Regions from separate parts of the Homo sapiens genome. Here region 2 is linked to region 1. The links are contacts of gene promoters, found by promoter capture Hi-C in blood cells and fetal thymus (Javierre and others, 2016). All regions are on one chromosome and are shown on one strand. Each heading gives the region's core, a stretch centred on a gene start or on the middle of the fragment in contact. The rest is flanking DNA. Distances are from core to core; before and after follow the strand shown. Region 1 holds the start of RFC4 (replication factor C subunit 4). Region 2 has its middle 23 kb from the start of TRA2B.

Evidence for each region. The method cuts DNA at HindIII sites, captures the fragments that hold promoters and counts their contacts. A CHiCAGO score of 5 or more calls a contact.
Region 2: a fragment that was not itself captured here is called in contact with the fragment with the promoter of RFC4 in region 1 in 7 of 17 cell types (activated CD4 T cells, naive CD8 T cells, total CD4 T cells and 4 more); the score reaches 8.7 in activated CD4 T cells.

Annotation. Positions count from the first base shown.
Region 1 is chr3:186,804,533-186,809,088 of GRCh38, forward strand. It overlaps RFC4 (replication factor C subunit 4), which reads right to left and starts at 1,950. Exons shown (of 11, transcript NM_002916.5): 1 at 1,758-1,950; 2 at 51-192. The coding sequence starts at 181. RefSeq lists enhancers at 1,506-2,117, 2,118-2,729. The HindIII fragment of the contact is 2,364 bases long and covers 220-2,583 here.
Region 2 is chr3:185,958,662-185,963,217 of GRCh38, forward strand. It overlaps the pseudogene NMRAL2P. Among named protein-coding and RNA genes, the nearest start is that of TRA2B, 23 kb to the left of the region's middle. The HindIII fragment of the contact is 4,527 bases long and covers 1-4,456 here.

The DNA of each region.
Region 1 (4,556 bases), core at 700-3,199:
TTAGAGAGATAATTTATGAATTATTTTAACAAAGACACAAGTGTTCTTACTATTTTTCCACCCAGGGAACGGGTTTGGCTTTCTTGTTCTCTCCGCTACTTCCCGCACTGGCAGCTACTCCTCGATCCTTGGTCAGCGGGGGTTTAGTACTGATGGATGTACCTTTAAGAAATGCTTGCATGGTACTTCACCCTGGTCAGGTGCAAGACAGAAAAAAAAAGCTTTTATTGAAACTTTTATTGCGAATCAGCACCATAGGAAAGCGGGGGTGGTGGTGGGGAACCATTATGAGAAAGTACAGCCCGAAAATAAACTTAGCCTTGTGCAAAGATGTTACATAATAAAGGACATCACCCCATGACCTAGGACACTCTGAATGCACTGTACTGAGGGCTACAAGAACAGAAAAGTGGTCAAAGTCCCTAACGAACTTAGAATCTATTTCTAGTGCAGGAGTTATAGAACAAAGATCATATGTCACAAAAATGTTTAATGAGTTCCAAATGCATTGATAAATATGATGTTGCTAATGACCAAACCACATGGGCCTCCATGGTTTCTTTCACAGTCATGGGCCTAGCTCTAGCTCAGACCCTGAAATGGACTCTTCGGCAATTAAAGGTGCTCTGCTTGCACCACAAATGAGAACCTTCACTCCTTTCCTTGGGTCAGAACTCAAAGACCTTTTTTTGTTGTTGTTGTTTTTGAGACAGGGTCTCACTCTTTTGCCTAGGATGGAGTGCAGTGGCGGAATCATGGTTCACTGCAGCCTTGACATCCCAGGCTCCTGTCATCTTCCCACTTCAGCCTCCCCAGTAGCTAGGACTACAGGTGCGTGCCACCACCCCCGGCTAATTTTTTAAATTTTTGGTAGAGACAGGGTTTCACCATGTTGCCTAGGCTGGTCTGGAACTCCTGGGCTCAAGTAATCCTCCTGCCCCGGCCTCCCAAAGTGCTGGGATTACAGGTGTGAGCCATCTCGCCTGGCCAGGGACCTATTTTCATGGCAGAGTCAATGCTTACCTACCTTCAGAGACTTTCTGTGGGGAAGGGAAGGTGGGGGACTCTGTTGTTAAAATAGAAACAGCTGTTTTTCTCATAACACACTCACTTGAAGAAATCAAAACAATGCATAAAAGCATGAGAGATTTAAAAAAGTAATACAAAATCCCACCCAGAAGGTAACTATTTCTAACATGCAGGTAAACATTCTTCCAGGCTGTTTTCAGGGATAAAAAGCATCATTAGCTCGCCTGAAAAGTCCCCGGTTAATTCTATTTTTTTCACTGCTACATGCCCTGGTGCCTAGAACAGTGCCTGGTACATGGTAGATGCTCCGTAATATTTGGTGAATGAATTACCATCTATGATACCCGGTTTCCTTTTCTGTTAAAGGAGCTAAGGCCTATTCCACAGGACAACTGAGTTAAATAAAAGAATGTATGCAAATACATAGTTCCTTGCTTGGCATATGGGGATATGCTCAATAAAATAAATTTTTAATATCTGTTAGCAGCCAAGGTTTTTATAACGTTACTGGATTAGTCCATCCCTGCCTCGGGCTGTTAAACATTAATACAGCCCAAAGCCGGGGCCTGCAAGATGCTGTCCGGAACCACCATTTCACCAAAGGGCGCGGCCAGGGCATGAAAGGGCCACTAGGCTGGGGCCCCGAAGGAGGTGGAAGACCTCACAAGGGGCATCAAGGGCAGGAGTGGGGAAGGCGAAGCGGGCTTGCAGTTCCTCCAGCAGGTTACCAGTTAGCCTGGCTTCTCGTGCAGGTCACCGCCGCCGGCTCGTTCCTCAGGTTTCCGCGATACAAAAAGGACGAGATGGTCTCGAAGTCTTAGCTCCGTCACCTAATCTGAGAATAACGGGCCCAGGAGACTTACGATCACTGATGTCCCCACAGTCGCCTCAGTTCCCGCCACGGAACGGCGGGCGAAAAGCAGGGCGGGAATACGCCGGTAGGAATACGCGGGCACGTAACGCGTCACTTCCGGTGCTGGGGCGCGCTGCTTGCGGAGGGAGTTTGCCCGTATACGGTTTTATTTAGGCAGGTGATGAGCCAGCCGGACTTTCAGGCAGAACTGGACTGGAACAGGCATGGCCTAGGAGGTGTCCCTGTCCCGGTGCATTGCTCCCACTTCAGACGTGAGCGCGACCCTCCCGGAAGGAGTAGAGGTCGCGCGGGCACGGCGCTGGGGCTGCTTACCTGGCAGGCTCAGCAATGAGGGCGGGGCGGCGGCGCGCGGGCCTCTGGAACCCTGCCGGTCCACCGAAGGTCCCGAGCCCGCTATCTTCGTAGGTGCGGGCCTCCGGAGGTGCAGGTCCCTGTCCTCCTTGTCCTGCTTCGTCGCAGAGCAGAACGCGTGTGCTTTAAGGGCAGAGACATCTGAAGATGCTTTGCCTTGCCCTCTTGAGGACACGTGGCTTTTACTTCTAATAGTGTCTGCGTGTTGTGGAGAGAGAAGACCATGCAGCTGTGGACATCTATTATAATTCCTGAGCCCCACTTAGAAATCTGGAAGTGAAGGCGTTCAATAAAAGTTAAAGGACTGATAATCATGTTTAGCCCCACCAAGCTTCATGCACAGTGGGCTAGGCTGGTGCCTGAGCCCACTGCTTTTATCTCTTCCAAGTACTTGGTTTAGCTCTGAAATGCTCCTTAATCCTATTGAAACCTGACCCTTCTCAAAGGCCACCTTCTCTACTGGTCTTTACTAATTACTAACCCATAAGGTTGTTCCGGGTCTTCTTCAAATGACTGTTTTGTTTGGCACAAACTCAGCATGATATCCATTGTTAACTTTGTACGTTTTTTTCATTTATCTTGCAACAAATGCTTACAGAATGTCCACGCACTGTGTTAGATGCCTGCAGATACAGCAGGGAAAACGCTCGAGATGCCCTCAAGTAGCTTTACAGACTAGGAGAGTGACAGACAATGTGATGTGTGGTTATGCAGAGGAAGTAGGGGGCTGTGAGAACTTACATCCCAGGCCTAACCCAATCAAGGGTTTAACCAAAGTAAGGATGCTTTATGCTACTTTGTAATTTCCACAGAGTCTGATACAATCTCTGGACAGTATAAAAAACACACAGGTTATCTATCTGGTCACCGGTTTACATTACCATAACTTATCAAACTGTATACTTAATGCTTGTATATTTTATTGTATGTAAATTATACCACAATACAGTTGATAAAACAAGATCTATGAAAATAGATGGTATCCATTTGCTACCTGAAGGAACAGCACAACCACAGAGAGGGGGATGTTATGATCTCATTTAACAGACAAGTTGGGCTGGGCACGGTGGCTCATGCCTGTAATCACAGCACTTTGGGAGGCCGAGGTGGGCGGATCACCTGAGGTCGGGAGTTCAAGACCAGCCTGGCCAACATGGTTAAACTCCATCTCTACAAAAATACAAAAATTAGCCAGGTATGATGGCAGGTGCCTGTAATCCCACCTACTTGGGAGGCTGAGGCAGGAGAATCGCTTGAACACGGTAGGTGGAGGTTGCAGTGAGCTGAGATCACGCCATTGCATTCCAGCCTGGTGACAGAGCGAGACTCCGTCTCAAAAACAAACAAACAAAAAAACAGACAAGCTGATGGATAAGTGGTCTTTGTCCATTTTGGCTGCTATGTTTATAAGCCATAGATTGGGTGGCTTATAAACATCATAAATTTATTTCTCACAGTTTTAGTGGCTGGGAAGTCCAAGATCAAGGCACCATAAGATTCAGTGGCTGGTGAGGGTTCACTCCCTCATTGACAGCTGTCTTACTGCTGTAACCTCACTTGGTGGAAAGGGCTAACTAGTTTTCTCCAGCCATCTCCTTTATGAAGGCATTTCTCCCATTCATGAGGGTTCCACTCTATTGAACCAGTCACCTCCCAAAGGCCCCACCTCCTGATACCATCACCTTGGGAGTTATAATTTCAATAACTATAATTTGGGGGTGTGGGGACAAACATTCAGACTACAACAAAGGTTAATAGCAAGTAAGTGGCAAAGCCATAATCCACATCTTGGACTGACTCCAGACTCAAAGCTTGTGATCAGTCACTGGGCAGGTTCAGGGCTGGCATAGAGGTGCCTTAATGTTAAATAGAAAAGAGAGACCTGAGTGGTATCTTGTTTTGGCAATTGATTTTAAAAAAATGCCACCTTTCTGCAGGTACATTCAGCCCTTGGTGGGATGAAAAACTTGGTGATAAGAGATTGGGCTGGATTTCTATCTCCACTTGCCCCTCAGCTGACTACTCCGTTATTGTACACAATTATAGGCAGCATCCTAATCCAGGTAGTTGAAGAACTTGTGTGCACACCAAGCATTGTCTCTCTCACCAGAACAAGAAATGTCCTTATATAAATACTTATCTTTTTTTGTGTCATACATATGTGGGTGTTCACATGATTAAACCAGTTTAACAAGTTTATAATAGCTTTTATTATTTATTGTAATGGGCATTCATTCAGTTACTACTATGATACTATTATGTGGAGATTTGTAAAGTTTTTTTGTTTTGTTTTATTTCTGTT
Region 2 (4,556 bases), core at 943-3,442, 850 kb before region 1:
CATAATACTGCTGTGGCTGTTGGGATAAGCCAAGCTCCTCACCATGCCTAGCATGCCCTTTGTGTTCTGGGCCTTTGCTCTCCTTCCGTCTTATTTCCTGCTGCTCACATAGCATTGCTGCAGCCATCATGACCCTGTGGGATCATTGCCCTGCCTTTGGGCTTGGCTGTGTGAAGTTTTTCCTGCCTGCGATGGTTTCTCTCCCTACACTCCCTGAATAAATGACTCATGTTGGGTCTTCAGGCCAACTGCAGCATTATCTCCTCTGAGAAAACCTTCCCTAATTCTGGGTTTTGTGCTTCTCCTCCATGACTTAGGTCCCTTGAGTTTCCTTTGCCATTGCCCTGTACTACAGTTTTATTTATTTATGAGCTTAGCCCCCTTACAAGAGCCACATCACCAGGACATCTAGTTCAATGCCTTGTATACCAAAGGCACTCAATGCACATTTGCTGAACAAATAAATATGTGAGTGAATCAGTCTTCATTTAGAAAATTGCAGTGTCAGCCCAGGTGCAGTGGTTCATGCCTGTAATCCCAGCACTTTGGGAGGCCGAGGTGGGTGGATCACCTGAGGTTGGGAGTTCGAGACCAGCCTGAACAACATGGTGAAACCCCACTTCTACTAAAAATACAAAATTAGCTGGGTGTGATAGTGCATGCCTGTAATCCCAGCTACTTGGGAGGCTGAGGCAGGAGAATTGCTTGAACCCGGGAGGCAGAGGTTGCGGTGAGTTGAGATTGCGCCACTGCACTCCAGTTTGGGCAACAAGAGTGAAACTCCATTAAAAAGAAAGAAAGAAAGAAAGAAAGAAAGAAAACAGCAGTGTTGGCTGAGTGCAGTGGCTCATGCCTGTAATCCCAGCATTTTGGGAGGCCAAGGTGGGCGGACCACCTGAGGTCAGGAGTTCGAGACCAGCCTGGCCAACATGGTGAAATCCCCTCGTCTCTACTAAAAATACAAAAAAAAAAAAAAAAAAAAAAAATTAGCCAGGCATAGTGGCACGTGCCTGTAATCCCAGCTACTTGGAAGGCTGAGGCAGGAGAATCCTTTGAACCCAGTGGGTGGAGATTGCAGTGAGCTGTGACTGTGACATTGCACTCAAGCCTGGGTAACAAGAACAAAACTCCATCTCAAAAAAAAAAAAAAAAAAAAAAAGAAGAAGAAAAGAAAAAGAAAAAAAGAAAATTGAAAATTGCAGTGTCACAGTGAGTAAGTGGACTAGTGGTAACAGGAACAAGGAGGGGCACAATAAAAGGCGTGGTAATTGGAATGGGTTTATAATTCTCACCAGAGAAGAAACACAGCATTTCGGCTGGTGTCGCTGCTCCAGGGAAAGTTCTGTTACTCCACTGACTCTCTCTTTTCCTGATAACATGGCCAGCAAGAAAGTAATTACAGTGTTTGGAGCAACAGGTAAAAAGTCTTTAATTTTTAGGGCATGCTGACTTTGCTCACTCTCCTGTCTTCCTGTTTGTAACTTTAGAGCCTGCAAGTGTGGGCTGAACAAAGAGCTCTTTGGAAGAAATTTTTTAAAGTATCCTATTGCTTTAGTTCTTGATGTGGTAAAGGGGTGGCATGATTTGATTTGTAACTTGATCTCAGCAGGACAAGGACACTGACGTAATCTCCCTTTCCCAGTCATGGGGCTAACTGGTTGGTATAAGTCTCATTTCAACATAAGCTATACTCTGAAGTCTTCTCTCCACTCACTTCCTAATAAGCAAAAGGTACAAGTGTGAGGGGCCTGGGGGTTTGTAGTGAATATCCAATGCCTGACCAATCTTCCAGGGAGTCTGCAAGGATGGAGTGTGTGGGAAGTTTGCATTCCTGGCTCCCTTACAGTTTGTTCCTCAACAGTCAGAGCCATCTTTGCACAATATAAATCAAATCAGGTTTTTCTCCTTCAATCTATTCTCATTTCAGCCTCCCAAGGATCCATTTGAAACTGTCAGATCATGTCAGGCCTCTGCTCAAAACCCTCTAAAAGATCCCAGCCCCATGGCACTCCCAGTAAAGTGCAAAGTCCTGCTAATGCCCTGCAACAGGGCCTTGGAAATGTTGTGTCAGAACTCTCTTCCTGCCACCCTCCTCTCACTCCGCTTCATTACCCTGGCTTTCTTGCTGTTCCTCCAAAACAATCCCACAAATACAAAGGCTCTGGCCTTTGTATTGGCTGCTTCTTCAACCTAGAATGATCTCCCTCTGTTACTGATATAATTTGACTGTGTCCCCACCCAAATCTCATCTTGAATTGTAGTTCCCACAATCCCTACATGTCATACGAGTGACCAGGTGGAGATAAATGAATGCTGGGGGCGGTTCCCCCAGCCTGTTCTCATGATAGTGAAAAGAGAGAGTTCCCTGGTCCTGGTCCCCCACCACAGGGTGTGCCACAGGGGTGTGGCTCTCTGTTCTGCCACTGCAAGCTCAAACTCTTTAAGAGATGGGGAGCATGCATACCGGTAGGTGCAGGAACTGGGGCAAGTGCTTTTGGGCTCCAGCCCTATGGCAGCATCTAGGGGTGGGTGTCTGTAACTTTCAAAGCCCAAGTGTGCATGTGTTACAGTGCACTCTTTTAGCCTTGCCATCCACAGATGGCTTAAGGGTTAACCAGCTCAGTGAACCCTCTGCCTTTTTGCAAAAGGAGGGGGCTAGTGTGACAACTTTCTGTATCCCAAGCCCTCATCCAGCATCCCAGAAGAATCAGGTCACACATGGACTTGAAGGATGAATGCAGGGGTTTTATTGAGTGGTGGAAGTGGCTCTCAGTGGGATGGTTGGGGAGCTAGACAGGGGATGGAGTAGAAATATGATCTTGCCCTGGAGTTTGGCTGTCCAGTGGCTGATTCTCCGAACATCCTCAGCCAAACTCCTCCTGACGTTCCTTCTCTTCTCTCCTCTGCTGCACCATTCTGCCATCTGTTTGTCTCCTTGTCTCCTAGTCTGCTTCTGGAGCCTGGGGTTTGGGGCTTATATGGATACAGGATAGGGGTGGTGGCAGGCCAGAAGGCAACTTTTGGGGTGCAAAAACAGGAATGCCTATTACTTAGGGCAGCAGGTATCCAGGCTTAAGGGTGGGGCCTTTGCCAGGAACCACCCTCTTCTACCCAGTATTTCCCTGTCTCCTGTTCGTATCAATAGTGAGTTCGTTCTCATGAGATCTGGTGGTTTTACAAGCGGCTTCCCCCTTCACTGGGCCCTCATTTTCTCTGCTGCCACCCTGTGAAGTGGTGTCTCCCGCCATGATTGTAAGTTTCCTGAGACCTCCCTAGCCATGTGAAACTGTGAGTCAATTAAACCTCTTTTCTTTATAAATTACCCAGTGTTGGGTATTTCTTCACAGCAGTGTGAGAAAGAACTAACACAGTTACCCACTGCTTTCCCCCTCATGCCATTCAGGTCTCTGCTTAGATGTTACCTTTTCCATGGGGACTTTCCAGACCTCTATATTTGAAATTGCAACTCTGCTTCCACCCTGCCCATGTCTGGCTCCCTTCCTTACTTCAATTCTTCTATTTCTGCCTGTCTTTCCACACTAGAATATAAGCTCTATGAGAACAGGAATTTGTCTGGAGGAAGTCAAGGGCTAAAGCAGGAAGCAGAGTGAAATAAATTCTCAAAAATCAACAGTCAAGTATGATATTAAAAGGAGAAGAAGAGGCAATGGAGCGGGGGATGACTCTATTAAGCGTTAGGGTGATGGTAAAGATGTTGGCTTTTCCTGAAAGAGAAAAGTGATCGAAGGGTTTGGTTTTTTCAGTGTGTTTGTGTTTAGCTACAGGGTCTCACTGTGTTGCCTGGGCTGGAGGGTAGTGACTCTCCATCCCAGGAGCCATCATAGTACACAGCCTCAAACTCCTGGGCTCAAGTGATCTTCCCACCTCAGCCTCCCAAGTAGCTGGGACTGCAGGATTGCAACAGCATACCAGACACTGAAGGATTTTGAGCAGAGGAATCACATGACTTTGGTGTTAAAAGGATCATTTTAGCTTATGCTTTGTGAAGGGACTATAGGGGATAAGGGCTGAAGCAGGAAGACCTGTTAGGAGGTGGTTGTCATAAAATAGGCGAGATGATAGTAGCTTAGACCAGGGTGGTAGCAATGAGATTGTGGAGAGTGGTCAGATTCTGTGGAGGTTTTAAAAGTTGTGTTGGCAGGATTTGTTGGTGGACCAGATATCAGGGGTAAGAAGGGAAGAGTTGAAAATGACTCTGAAGTTTTATGGCTTGAGTAACTGGAAGAATAAAGTTGAGATTCACTGAAATATGGGAGACAGTGGGGAGGAGGAGGTCAGGAACTCCTTAAACTTGAATTGGTCTCATTAAACTTGAGTTGCCAACTAGGCATCCAGAGACTGGGTAGGCAGTTGGATAAGATTTTTGGGAGTGGCCAGTCACTCTATTAATTCTGTCTTCTAAATCTCTCTGATTTTTTCCATTCTCCCTCTTAGAAGCTTTTTCCACACTCCATTTGCCTTCTCTCCATGTTCCACCTTTAAACAGAACCATCTTTCAAATCTGATTAATTTTTCAAACCTTGTAGACAGCTAAT